Regions from separate parts of the Homo sapiens genome. Here regions 1, 2 and 3 are each linked to region 4. The links are contacts of gene promoters, found by promoter capture Hi-C in blood cells and fetal thymus (Javierre and others, 2016). All regions are on one chromosome and are shown on one strand. The core of a region is centred on a gene start or on the middle of the fragment in contact, and the rest is flanking DNA. Distances in the headings are between cores, read along the strand shown.

Region 1 (3,545 bases), core at 978-3,477, 800 kb after region 4:
AACCAAATATTTTTTCTTCTATCAATATTGATTACATATTTTAATTCATATTTCGTGTTGCTAATTGTAAAAAATTAATTGTAAGGTAGTGTTTAAGCTTCTGAACAATCTATAATAGTGTTTTCAATAAAGCAAACTAATATGAGAAAAAAATAAGACATCTAACACTGATTTGATTGAGTTCTATCTCAGTCAAGCACAGTCAAACATAGACGTGATTATCAGAGTATAAGGTCTCAGGTGCTAGGTTCTTGGGGCAGTTGTAAGAAAAGAGAAGGCAGTCTCCATTCTCAAGAGCTGGATGTACCAGCCTAAGCAGACATTGCTGTCTAGACTGTCCTCTATGATATCAAATATTGTGCCAATCTTAAGAAGATGAGTTTTGGGTGTTGCTTTCACTTCAAGCAAAATTGAAAACCCACTCTCTGGAGAAAACAGAGTTGGCAATCTGAAGCCCTTTGGCTTTAGGAAGGCCTCATGTTCCTCTCACATTTCTGCTTTATTGTTTTCACCTCTAAACTCCAAACTCCTTGTTTTTCATGAGTATTTTCCTGCATTCACGATGGCCTCCTTTCTCTCTCATTTCCCAGGATGTAATACCTCAGCCGCTGCTAGATCAGTATGTGTCCATGACTGACCCAGCTCGAGCCCAGACTGTCGATACTGACATAGCCAAACACTGTGCCTACAGCCTCCCAGGGGTGGCACTGACCCTGGGCAGGCAAAATTGGCACTGCCTGAAAGATACATATGAAACACTGGCTTCTGATGTACAGGTAAAAGCCTTTCCAGAGGCACGTGCAGAAAGAGGGTGGGTCATTCATTAGGGAGAAAAGGGAAGCTGCAGCAAGGCTTATTGGCCTGAATTTTATGTGGATGCAAATTGGCATGTTTACTGGTCTCTGATGAAATAAAGCTTTAAGTGGCCAACACCTGGCAGTATTCATTTTGCTCCAAAAATGCCATGTAAGATACGGAAGAGGTTGAATTGCACTTGCTTGTCGTGATTCGTGTGTCTGCTATGCACCCCTAGTGGAAGGTACGGCGAGCCCTAGCCTTCTCCATTCACGAGCTGGCTGTGATTCTTGGGGATCAGTTAACAGCAGCTGACCTGGTGCCTATCTTCAATGGATTTTTAAAGGATCTGGATGAAGTGCGAATAGGAGTTCTTAGACACCTGTATGATTTTCTAAAGGTAGGAAGAAGGGTTAAAAGCAAAAAACAAGCCTCCTCTCTCCGAATCAAATTTGTGAAGCCCTGGATGTCTATGGTGTCAGTGAAAAAAACAATGCAGTTTTTAGCTTTCTTTAGCTGAAATGTACCATCCATAATCTTAAAGTGGATGTTCTTTCAGTGATGGGTAAATATTTTAAACTTTTTTCTCCTCATTTTCCTGTCCATTAGAGTTTTAATTCTGTGGAAGATGGTAGACACAAAGCCTAGCACACTCTTTGCAAAAGAAGAAATCAAGGCCCCCAGGTAGTGACCTGACTTGCCCAGAAGTCACCCAGGGGAAGAGCCTGGGCTGAAGTCCAACCTCTGTTCTGCATGAAGCACTTTTTCTGCAAGTCGCTGCTGCTTCCCTTCTGGCTTCCCCCCCTCCCCCCCAAACGAACGATGAATATAAAAAATAAGAGTTTAAAAATGACCTAGAGAAACTAATTACTCTCATCCACATGACCAAGAGCTGCCCTTCACGGACTCTGGTGTGCGCTGCTCCAGCTGAGTCTCTCCTCTCCTGGTGCCGAGCAGCCTCGCTCCCTGGGAAGCGGCAGTGGCACACTGTCTTCCAAACACACACAGACTGGGTTTTTGTTTGTCTGTTTTTTTGTTTTTAGATAGGAAATTACTAAAGCAGGAAGACCTCAGGGGCATTCAGAAATACATAATAAGCACATGTCCTAGCCAGGGGAAAAGGTTGGAGGTGTTCAGGGATGCATTTGATGTCAGTGTACAGCAGTGTTCATTCGCAGCCACGCTGCGTGATAGATGACGAGGTGTAGGGGAAATGCAAAAGTTCTTGCCAGTGACAAATGTATAATTGGAAGTGGAATAAAAGGGGGCATTTGGGGTCATTTTGAAGGATTATACATGTTTGTTTATATATACATTTTTAAAAAATAGTTGCTTCATGAAGACAAGAGGAGAGACTATCTTTATCAGCTTCAAGAATTTGTAGTGACTGATAACAGCAGGAATTGGAGGTTTCGATATGAACTAGCAGAGTAAGTAAAAACATATTTGGGGATATGAGAAAGCAAACTAGATGGAATAAATCTTAATTTTCTTACCATATAATTGATTTCTAAAGCAGCAGCAATAGTGTTCTTTTAGATAAAGAGATTATGTTTTTATTAAGGTATAAACAGAATTCCAAAAACCCTGAGTTACAAATACCACAGTCTCCGGGGAGACATTCATTTTCAGATGAAGACAGGGCTTGAGTCACTTTCGAATTAGAGTGTTCTGCTGTTCTAGAAGGCAATTTATTTGAACCAAATAAAAGATGAATCACCCACTCTTCAGTGTTTTCCTATTAATCGGAGCAGTTTTTACCAGAGCTTTCCTGAACATTCTGAGTGTGGTCCTCTCCGTAGGGTACAGCATGCTTAATGCCCTTTAGCTACTGTGGGAGACAGGAAGGGGTCTAACCCAGATGAGATGATTATGAAACAAAAAGGTTCCCCAAGGTGGCTCCTATCTGCACATCATTTTGTGCCTGAAGGAGTTATTTAATTCTGTCTTGAGCTGGCAAAAGGAATGTTCCAGGCTTTAGTGATGATGAAAGGGTGGAAGCATCAGTTTAAATAACTCCCCTTCCTAAGGTATATAATGTGCCTTTCACGGTGTGGAGGGAATTTGTTTGTGGCAGTTGTTGTTTGGGTTTTAGTTTTTACCTTGTTTTCATTTCGGTGTCTTTAGTTTTCATTTTTCTCATCCACAACTAGAAATCTCTCAAATAATTGTCTTCCCTGAATAAATTCATCAGGCTTTTGCAGCTATTCAGGATATGATTTGGCTGATGCCAGGGGCAAACCGAAAGCCTTTCTCTTTGCTGTGGTCTTTAATCATTCTGCTTAATTTGAGAGATTGAGGTTTCAGTCATTTTACCATGTTCCCAGCATCCTGTTCTGAGTCGAGAAAAACAGGCCCACGTTTTCCATGAAAGCAGTGCGACCTCTAGCGGCGGCGCACGGGAAGTAGGCGCGCTCGGTGCCCGGCGGGGCTTCCCCGGGTGGTTGCGCGGCCCCAGTGCCCGACCACGTTATCTAGCCCCCTACGCGCCCTATCTCCCATCTCCCGGCTTATTGAAGCCACAGCGACTGATATGAATTCTGTGCTCCGGTGCCCATGATATTGGTATCATGTTTTTGAAAACGGTGCTTTTTGATATGAAAGTATTCACCAGCACTCCGGGCTTCTGGTTCTAACTTCCTCCCCATCTCTTTTTCATTTCCTTTCGTTGCCTGGGTGAAAGCAATGTCATTTATTTTCATGCCCTTCTCCCCATCCCCATTTAGAAAGTAGTGAAAGCTTTGGTAGTG
Region 2 (3,481 bases), core at 263-2,762, 650 kb after region 4:
AAACTGGAGAGCCTCTGGCCATTCATTCATTCATAAATACCAACTGAGCATCTACTGTGAGTCCGGTGCTAGCGATATAGTGGAGACCCGGCCTTCCAATCTAAAGTACGCTTCCATGGAGTCAGACTGTTCCATTTCCTACACAGCACTTAGCACTATCTGCAATGATCTTGTGTGTTGGTTTGTCTGTCCTCGTCGGAAGGTAAGCTCTGTGAGAGCAGAGGCCTTATCTGTCTTGTGCATCCATCACCTCCCCAGAGCCTCCCACATCACTGGATACACGCAAAAAGAAAGAATGAGCATGTCAGACAAGAACTTTTACCTCGTGGCCCTGGTGAAGGTAGGAAAAAAAAAAAAAAAACAAAAGTAACAACATAGAAAACATAAAGGCACAAATTACAGAGGTAATAGTATCTGGGAGAAACCAGGGTCATGGCTTCCCATCGCCGCAGGTGTTGCTCCAGACAGCTCTGCGGAGAAAAAGGATCCCAGCACCGTGGCAGCCTCCTTGCACCGCAACCAGGAGACAGCATGAGGGACGCAGTGAAAGGAAAATGGGCCCAATCCCATCAGAAGTCCTGAGGAGGTTCATTTGTTGGTTCAACATGTTCATCTGTTGGTTCAACAGGTATTTATTTACTAGGCGTATAATGTGTGCTGGGTACACAGCAGCGAACTGACAAGAGCCTGTCCTCATGCAGTTTCCCTTCTAGTATTGAAACAGTGATTTTGGGTATGAAAAGTGCCGTGCTGACCACGAAACAGTGACGGAATAGGGAATGACAGCAGGTGTGCACGGTGGCTGGGTGGTCACAGCAGGCCTCTCTGAGCAGCTGACACCTCAACTAAGCCCTGAGGTCAACACTGTCACGGAGCAGGGGAAGAAACTTCTAGGCAAAGGCAGCGGCGGAGGCTCACACTAGAGAGGATCACAAACTGGTAAGTTACAAAGTGACAAGTGCCTCGAAGGCAAGTCCCAGGAGGCTGGGGGTCGGGGAGGAGGCGCAGGCCCCGGCTCCCGCACCAGCCCTCTCGGGTCCCGGCCACTCCGGGCAGTTCTGGGGAGCGCGGCGAGCGCCAAGGCCCGGCCCGGCCTCGCCGCCCCCCGCGACAGCGCCGTCGGGGTGGGGACGAGGGCCGACGTCACCCGCCGCGCCGGGCTCCGTCCTTCCAGCACTGGGGCGGAGGCCGCGGGCAGGAAGGTGGCGGCCTCTGGGGCTTACCTCGGAATTTGAGCTCGTGCTGCGGCTCGAGGCTCAGGACCTGCTCCACCTTCGCCATGTTCCTTAGCGGCGGAGCACCTTTGGCGGGGAGACCCCTGAGAGGTCACCGGGGCGGGAAGCGTTAATGCTGCGCCCGCTTTAAGTTTTACAAAAAGGCGGGGACCGGTCGGGGCACGGGCGGGGGTCCTCTACCGGGTGGGCGCGCTGGGGGGGGGTCGGTCTACGCGGTGCAGGCGCAGGGGCGGAGGGCGAGGGCGAGGCCGCGGTGCCCGGCGAGCTGACGGCACGCACGCACGCACGCACGCACGCAGAGTCGTACACACGCACGCACGCAGCAGGCTGGCCCGCTCTGGCGGCGGGAAGCTGCGCCCTGCGCCGCCGGCTCCAGGGGCGGGGACTAAAGCTGCGCGCGTAGAGCCCCTTCCGGGACAGTGCGCAGGCGCGGCACAAGCCACGGGGGCGGGACTGCGGGGCAGTAAGGGGCGGGGCTTCGGGCCGCTCAGGAGGCGGGGTCTGTAGTCCAGCTACGACAGCCACCGCGGAAACTATTAAGGGCCCGCTGGGGGCCAGCTTCGTGTTAAGTGCTTTATTCAATAATAACAATTAGAATAAACTTCCACTTTTCTCTTGCTTATGTAGTGCCAGGCACTGTTAGAGACTTTGAATAATAGTGAAAGTACTTAGTATAAGTATAATGTTTATGGGTGAGTGATATGGGCTAGGCACTGTGACGTCTTGTAAATAATAATTATAAATATAATAAACTACCAATTATTGCTTATTTATTTTGTATCACTCTACTGAATGCTTCCAATAACAACAGCAACTACAATAAATACAAGCTACTCTACGTTAAATGTTTACTATGCAACTGGCACTGTGCTGAATTCTTTACTAGTAAATTCTATTTGTTTATGCAACAAATATTTAGAAATACAATGATCAGAAAAGCGAACCTGATTCCAATCCTTTTACTATAGCCTAGTGAAGAGACATCTTTTGAATAAATAACCACACACGTAAGTTAAATAATTAAAAATTGCTGGAGAATCCAGATCTGCTTGACCTCAAAAGTGGATACTCTACATCATGATTACCGTTTAAATTGTATTTCATTATATTATGTTTACTATGGAAGTTAAATAGGTGTTCTTAATAGTCTCCTATACATACCCATATAGGTGAGACAAATGTGGCAAATTGCTAGCAATGGCTGACTCTACATCGCAGGTATATGGTTTTCTTGTACTGTTTCTCCCACTTTGCTGTATACTTGAAATTTTTCATGATAAAAAGGTTTTTTAAAAGAATAGTCTTTGTATTTTAACTGGAGCATTTAGTCCATTTACATTTATTATATTTACTGATATATCTGGAATTATTTCTACCATTGTATTTTGTTATTTCTATTTGTCCTGCCTGGTTTTTTTCCCCTTTCCTTTCTTCTTTAGGGTTTATTTTTATTCTCATTCTGATTTTCTTCACCTGTATACTCTATTTCTAAGTTTTAGTGGTTACTTCAAACTTTTGGGCATGCATACTTACCTTGTGAAAGTCCAATATCTTTAAATATTTGTAAAAATGTCTTTACCCTGTTTCCTTAAAATATAAAGACTTTGGAGTACTTTAATCACCCATCCTCTAAATTATACACCTTAATGTAGTGTATGTTAAGTTTAACCTTTGCCACTGTAACCCCAAGAGACATTACTAAATTGTTTTATTCAGTCAACATTAGTTTAGATTCAGCCACACAATTACCATTTTTATCCACCTTTTCTTCTTGCATCTCAGCTTTCACCAACAGGATCACTCTCCTTTTGCCTGAGGTAAATCCTTTAAATTTTATTTTTTTGTAGCTTCGTTGGTGCAAATCCTCTCAGTTTCTGCTCATCTGCAAATGGATTCATTTTTGCCTTTTGTTGTTTTTATTTTATTTATTTATTTATTTGGAGATGAGGTCTTGCTCTGTTGCCCATGCTGGAGTGCAGTGGCATGATCGTGGCTCACTGCAACCTGTATCTCCCAGGCTGAAACAATCCTCCCACCTCAGACTCCGGTGTAGCTGGGACTAAAAGCATGCACCACCACGCCCAGCTAATTTTTTTATTTTCTGTAAAATCTCACTATGTTGCCCAGGCTGGTTTCAAACTCCTGGGCTCAAGTGATCCTCCTGCTTCAGCCGCCAAAGTGCTAGGATTACAGGCATGAGCCACTGCGCCTGGCCTTGCCCTTGTTCTTGACAGATATTTTGGCTT
Region 3 (3,325 bases), core at 242-2,741, 630 kb after region 4:
GTCTATTTACATTAAAAAGTATCCTATTGCTTTCTGCGTTCTATACCCATCTGCAGTGCACCAATCCCCACATTATTTCTTTTCTTGTTTATGTAAATCTTCCCCTTCTAGAATGGAAACTCCATCAACACAGACTTTTTTGTCCCTCTTGTTCATTACTGATCATCAGCACCTAGAGCACTTGCAGGCATAGAACAGATGCTCAATAATATATTTGCTGAATGAACAAATAGCCATGCCATGCTTCCATCTACTTCACACAATGGCTGTATTCTTCCTCTATGCACCCTCTGTAAGCACATCCAGGCTCTGGGTGAATAAATACTGAGACTACTGCTGCTCCTGTTCCAGCATTACACCCTTTTCATCTTCTGCATAGGACATATTTTGTTTGTTCCTTTCCTGTTTCCACATGGAGTGGGGGGCGGGGTGGGGGGGGGGGGTGTCTGTCCTATTCATCACCAGATCCTCCAAACTAGAACAGTGCCACAAACATAGTAAAAATGTATGCTGCATGAATACGAGACTTCCTCAGAGGTCATTGTACTCTGATTCTGCTGCATTTCCTGTAAACAGACACCTACTTCAAAACCCGGATCTGAAATCACTCTAAATTTGTGCTGCTTATATACAGGTTGAAGGTATTAAAAATGCTCACTGTGTCAATAATGCTTTCATCATAATTATTCTATGGTGTTTTTTTTTAAAGTTGCCCCCTCCCTAAAAAATGAAAGATACCATACTAACAGATATTCGAAGAGAGTGAGCTGTTAAATAACCATGAACTCAAGAATAAGGACACTGGAGAAGTTTTCTTAAAAATCTATTTTCTTGATCGAATTGTTAGCTCACACATTAAATCAATGCTTTAGAAACAAAAATAAAGCTTTAAAGCTTTGCAACCAATGTGTTTAAATGGCAGACATTATATTCCAATATTCCAGCAGAAAGCCTGATTGTATAGCTCTTATTTTGAAATAACCACATAAAAACAACCCTACCCATAGACACATAACTTTCCTGAAGAACTCTTAGAATGCAGTGTTTTAAATTAATAAAGTATTCTCCTGGTATCCTCGGGAGCCAGCCAGCTACTGAGAAACATCACACCTGTTATTGCAGCAAGAGAAATCAACACCAAGAACTCTCACTGATGATGCCATCAAAGGCACACCAGAAGCCAACTTGATTGAAATAGACTATACCAGACTTGCAGGGTGCTTACTCAATTCACTAGTTTCCTAGGTCTTTCAGAGCAGAAAGAAACAAAACTCAGCCTGCCACCACCTCCATGGGTGGGAAAACTAAACTGGAAGACATGCTACTGTATTTTAAGAATTCCTAAGATCAAACTCAGGAAAGCTACCTGAAAAAAAATACAAAGTTAGTAAGGAACAGCCTGGAAAACTAAGATATTTGCAGTTTATATAACAGATGAATGGCCAGAATTGAAAATATATAAAGAATTCTCTTACTTACAATAAAAATTCTAAAATCTCATGAAGGAATACTATACAACTCTTTAAAAGAATGAACTAGATCTGTATTTCAACAGTTGATAGGTCTCAAAAACATGTTAAGTCATCCATACACCATGACACTACATTAAGTGATCTAGAAAAAAACGGAAATAGTTCACATTAAATTCCTCCGGGGAGTTAAAAAAAAAACAAAAAAAAAAGGAGGGCGTATGAATCAGCAGATATGGAGTACAGACATGCCATAAATTATTAGTGAAGTTTTACTTGTTTTATTAAAGAAAGATTTAAAACGAGTCTTCTAACAAATTATTAACATTTAGTTACTCCATACTGGGGTATTTATATTATCTGTATTTTTCTGTACTTAAAAATTTTTTCATATACAGAAAGCTACCTGTAGTTTATGTGAGATCCAAACAAGGTTCTTTTGAAATAATTTTCTACTTGTTCAGACTTGTAAAGTTGTTGAAAACTGATAAACCAGCCTTGATAGTCATGCTTGTATAATTTATAAAAATCAAGGTTATCACTCAAAACATGTTTAAAGTTGCAGTGGTCTCATTAACTCAAGACAAAGACCCATGTGTACAATTCTGACAAAAGCTTCTGTATGAACTTCAAATACTAGAAACCATCTAAAGATAAATACTGTCACTACTTTCCTTTAATACACTAGATTTTTTTTCGTAATAGAAAAATGGCTAAAAGGAGTATATAAGAGCTGAGGCTTCATACATTCTATCTATATCCAGCACTAATATTATCGTGCAGTAGAAGATTATTCACAGATGAATTTTACATCAGTTCTAAAAGGATCTTAGACGATTTAATAAACTGAATTTTTTCAATGCATTCTTTATCCCATTGACTAACGAACATCTAGTAATTATTCTCTACTTGAAAGACCAAAATTTCTGATTACAGTAATCACAAAAATAAACAAAAAGATAAGCAATATTCTACTGCAAATAAAATTCTATCTAAATAGAAGAGTGACAAAACATGATTCACATTTTACACAAAGCAGGATGAGTCAAGACAGATAATATGCTCAAGTTAGGGGTATGAGTGATAAAATAGCATGGGGTCCCAATTTCTCATGGTTGTAGTTGTTTTAACAGTTCAAGTGCAAAAAGTCATTAACAACAGAAGTAAAACTTCTCCAAAGTGTTCCATCTTTAGTGGAGATGACAGCATGTGAAAAAGCCTCCATACGAAAATCAACACATCCAATTCACACCAGATACAGAACAGGGGAGAAGAACAAGTTTAGCATTCTGCACCTTGATGATCCAACTGGAATTTTCAATCTGTGAACGATGAGAAACAGTAGAACGTGGTTTATCAGTTAGTGTGTAATCTGTTCTGGTTCCTTTTCAATAAAGAACCTAAGTGGCTATACCAGTGATAAGAGATTATCAACCAGGTCAGCAGCTTCTTAAACTCAAGAAGAGGCCAGGGGAAAGGCTGTGAGACTTGGATGAAAAATATTTTCTATTTTTCCCTTACTCTGCCTTTGGAAATTATGCTCATTCTTCAAAGTTTTGCTCAAACGTCTTCTCTTTTGGAAAGGTTTACCAAATCTCTTTAATCAGAAGAAATTACTCCTTACTGTTCTATGTCACAACAATAAGCTGACTGCCAAATTTATATCTGCAGCCTGGCCCTCTCCCCTGAGCTCCAGACTCAACTACCTATTTAACATCTCTCGTTGCAAGTGTACTGAGCATCTCAAGTTTCTCATGTCCAAACGGCACTCTTGAGTCCCACTCTCCTCCCTCAAACTCAATGCTTCTCATCTCAGTAAAGAAACCACCACTCACCCAACTGCTTAGGCCAAAAGC
Region 4 (3,716 bases), core at 136-2,635:
CAAGCTAAGAACAAGAATGAGGTGGTCCTTCTAACAAGCTTCTAAGTAACTAGATGTAAAGATTTTCCTCCATAACCTTCATTGAAAATGGCAAATTGTTCTGTTAGGAGGTAGACGGCTGTGGAGAGTGCAGGAGAGCAGGGTGGGAAGCCATATTCTGAAAGCTAAGCCAGGCAGTCTGTTCCCTGGACAAGGCTCATCTCTGAATGAAACCACATGCCACCTCCTCCTGCCCCAGCAATTCTTAGTCATTCTTTCATCCATTGATGCAACAAATAATTGTCATTTAGGAAGGGGGAAATCACTGAACAAGTCTGGCAAGAGCCTCGCCCTCAGGGGCTTACAGTCTAGCGGAAGTTACAACAAATAAACTAGATGACTCCATTAATTCATTCATCCCACAAATAGCTATTGATTTTTTTCATTTTTCAATAAGTAGTCATTGAGCCTTGACTATATGGGAGACACTGAGGATGATTTTTGAGCAAGACCGGCAAGATTCTTGCCTTCAAGAACTCAGTTCGATTGTGAATTTTCACAAATAAATTAACAAGATGATGTCAGAGGGGTAAGTGCTATAAAAAATGCAACAGGATATTGTGACGGAGCAGAGCAACAAGGTGAGAAACGGTGACGAGGGAAGTCTCTCTGGGAGAGACATCTCAGCTCAGATCCATCCTATGCACCTAGGGCAAGGTGTGCCCGGCCAGGAAGCTTTTCTACCCGACCCCTGGCACCGTGCTTCCGGACCGCATCCCTCGTAGGGGTATTATTCATGGGCAGGTCTGATGTTAGCTTCTCCGCGTCACGCCTTATTTATCCCCTCCGAGGGCTGCAAGCTCCTGGCGGGCAGGTGGGACTGGCCCAGCTGATCGGCTGGGTGGCTGGTGGATTTGGGAAAACAGCCCGGGCTGACCCAGGAGGTGGCTGGAACTCTCTATAGGGCACCAGGAAATTTTGCACAAGTGACCACCACAACGAACATCTATGTCAGCAGGCTGACCGCATGCGTCCACACGCCTCGAAATGCCAGGCGAGGATGTGCTGGGCCAGAAGGACAAGGAGGGCCAAGCGGGCGCGCAGGCACCTCCTGGACCTGACCCAACTCTGCCCAGAGGTCAAGGCTCGCTACAAGCCCGCCGCGCCTGCGCAGCACAGCGCCCGCGCCGGCCCCTCCAGCTGCCGTCGGCGGCACTGCGCCGGCGCGATGCGCCCGGCGCTAAGAGGCGGGGTTTCCTTGCGCCGCGCGCAAGGCTGGGGCAAAACCCGGGCCGGGATAGGGCGTGGGGCCGCGCGTCTGGACGTCCCTCGCGTCGGGCCCGACAGCGCCTGCGCACTGCGCCGCCGGCTGGGGTGCTGGGGGCGGGGCAGGGGCAGGTGTAGCCTCTGTGCCTCGTTGTCCCCTGGCGCTACCCGGACATCTCTCAGGGTGCCGGCACCATGAAGATCTGGACTTCGGAGCACGTCTTTGAGTAAGTTTGGGGCGCGGGTCGGCTCCGTGGAGGGCAGGCACGCCGGCCCTGGAGTAGAGGCGAGGCAGAGGCGGCCCGCAGGAGGCTTCTAGGCGTCGGGCCTAGCGAGGGGAGCGAACTCTGAAGCCTGCGGGCCCCGGCGACACGGAGGGCAGACCAAGGTCACGACCCCGAGGCGCCCTAGCCGAGGGGACGGCTCCGACCTCCAGACCCAGGCGGCCTTGCGACCGGCAGGGCTACGGGGTCACTTCCGGGCTGTCCCCCACCATGAGGTAGCCTCGGGCCGGCGGCCTCCTGAGGTCCTGGGGGCGTCGCGGAGCACGAAGCCCTTGACAGCACTCAGGGTTGCCCCATCCCGCCCTGTGAAACCACTTTGGGACGTGGACCCGAGGATCCCAAGAGGGAGGTGTTGGTTTTCTCCAGAGTGTACTTTCCCTGGCCGCCGTTTGGGTGGAGTTTCTACCTTCGAATGTGAATTTCGGGTGAACTCTGACCACCAGGATGTGAAGCCTTTTCACAACTCGTTCATCTACGCAGCAGAGCCTTGGATTTGGAATTCAAGGTCTAGCTCTGGCTGTAACAAGCGTGTGACCCTGGGTTACCCATTTTCATCTGAGAGATGGAAAAGGACGATCGTCAGGGCCTACCCGTGTTAGCTCTTTGAGGCCACGTTCAGGAACATCTTTTTGGATAATGTGAACTGTTTACTAACGAAACTAAGCCTTGAACCAGTTGGATGTGGAGAATTATATTCTCTTCTAGGTCCCTGATTCCATTTACAAAAGAGCCACAAATTTAAGCAGCGAAATCCTTTTTTTTCCCGAGTTACCTGCTCTGTTCCGCTGATCTTAATGTCGTTGCCACACTGTTTTAATTAGTATAGCCTTGTAAATAAATATGCTACAAAGCCATTTATGTTTTTAAAACTGTCTCTGAAGGCAAATTTTTTTTAAATTTCTTTTTTGAGGCAGAGTCTCGCTCTGTTGCCCAGGCTGGAGAGTAGTGGCGTGTTCTTGGCTCACTGCAACCTCCGTCTCCCGTGTTCAAACGATTCTCCTGCCTTGGCCTCCCAAGTAGCTGGGATTACAGGCGCCCACCACCGCGCCCGGCTAATTTTTGTATTTTTAGTAGAGACGGAGTTTCACCATGTTGGTCAGGTTGGTCTCAAAGTGATTCGCCCTGGTCAGGTCGCACCTGACCTCAGGTGATTCGCCCGCCTTGGCCTCCCAAAGTGCCGGGATTACAGGTGTGGGCCACTGTGCCCGGCCTCTGAAGGCAACTTTTAAAACGTTGTCCGCATTTGTACTCAGTGGGACACATCCTAGGGCCTGCTGTATCCTGCAAAGTATAGAATACTGGAATCAGAAGGAAGCTTTCTTTTCCCCCTACTGTTTAGTCTTTTTGGGAGGAAAAAGACCCGAAATTTGTGGTCATTTAGATGTTCATTAACCTGGTCGCATTCATCACTAGTCCATTTCAGCTCCGAGGATGTTTAATTTCAGTCCTCTTCCAGGTTTGCATGCTTCAGTCCTCTTCTGGGTTTGCATGCTTCAGAGGTTCTCGGCACTCAGTCTCCCTAGAACTGTCTTCTCCCATATCTTCCCTAACTCTTCTTCCTGGCTCATCCCCTCCTTCCCTCTACACTCTTTCTGCCTTTGTCTTCAGCGCTTCCCTGTCTTTTCCCATTCAGTGTAAATGTTCAGTGAGATTCTGTGTTGGCCTTCCTATATTGGATTTTACCTGTGATCTTAATTTCTTTTTTGTTTCTCTTTTCGTCACAGACTTTTTTTTTGTCCTGGGAGAAGCAGCCCTGATCCGTGCTTTCTCCCCACATAATCTGAGCTGTTTGGTCAAAGTCCCAAATGATAGGTATACATTTATGGCACCCAGATCTGTACCTTGAGCTCCAGCCTCTCTTGAGCTCCGCTTTTCATTTTCAGGTGCCTGTTAGGCATTGCTACCCTCGTGTCCCACAGGCCCTTAAAACTCAGCCTGTCTGAAATTGAAGTCATCATCTCCCCTGACAAATCTGAGCGTTGTTTCTGATCTTTAGGATGTCACTCTCTAACAATGTCTAAGTCATCATTCTACATCTTATCTGTCTTTGATTTTCCAACACTTTTCTTCTGAGGCCTATAGTTGGCATCCAGGTGAAGTCATTCATTGATTCCTTCAACTTATAGAGATGCCCAGTATGTGTCAGCCACTGTTCTTTGGATTGATTACATTTTCATAAGTAAATCA

The links. The method cuts DNA at HindIII sites, captures the fragments that hold promoters and counts their contacts. A CHiCAGO score of 5 or more calls a contact.
Region 1: a contact is called between a fragment that was not itself captured here and the fragment with the promoter of PRELID3B in region 4, in 1 of 17 cell types (naive B cells). The highest score is 6.2, in naive B cells.
Region 2: a contact is called between the fragment with the promoter of VAPB here and the fragment with the promoter of PRELID3B in region 4, in 2 of 17 cell types (non-activated CD4 T cells and total CD4 T cells). The highest score is 6.1, in non-activated CD4 T cells.
Region 3: a contact is called between a fragment that was not itself captured here and the fragment with the promoter of PRELID3B in region 4, in 2 of 17 cell types (naive CD4 T cells and naive CD8 T cells). The highest score is 5.7, in naive CD4 T cells.

What each region holds. Positions count from the first base shown.
Region 1 is chr20:58,236,891-58,240,435 of GRCh38, reverse strand. It overlaps the pseudogene PPP4R1L. Among named protein-coding and RNA genes, the nearest start is that of ANKRD60, 10 kb to the right of the region's middle. RefSeq lists a silencer at 3,262-3,311. The HindIII fragment of the contact is 2,618 bases long and covers 919-3,536 here.
Region 2 is chr20:58,387,260-58,390,740 of GRCh38, reverse strand. It overlaps VAPB (VAMP associated protein B and C), which reads right to left and starts at 1,512. Exons shown (of 6, transcript NM_004738.5): 1 at 1,224-1,512. The coding sequence starts at 1,281. RefSeq lists silencers at 984-1,103, 1,364-1,803. The HindIII fragment of the contact is 12,509 bases long and covers 1-3,481 here.
Region 3 is chr20:58,406,009-58,409,333 of GRCh38, reverse strand. All of the region lies in intron 1 of VAPB (VAMP associated protein B and C), which reads right to left. Among named protein-coding and RNA genes, the nearest start is that of VAPB, 18 kb to the right of the region's middle. The HindIII fragment of the contact is 1,190 bases long and covers 897-2,086 here.
Region 4 is chr20:59,040,455-59,044,170 of GRCh38, reverse strand. It overlaps PRELID3B (PRELI domain containing 3B), which reads left to right and starts at 1,385. Exons shown (of 6, transcript NM_016045.3): 1 at 1,385-1,472. The coding sequence starts at 1,441. SLMO2-ATP5E (SLMO2-ATP5E readthrough) reads left to right here and starts at 1,325. Exons shown (of 6, transcript NR_037930.1): 1 at 1,325-1,472. RefSeq lists a silencer at 1,068-1,467. The HindIII fragment of the contact is 2,130 bases long and covers 717-2,846 here.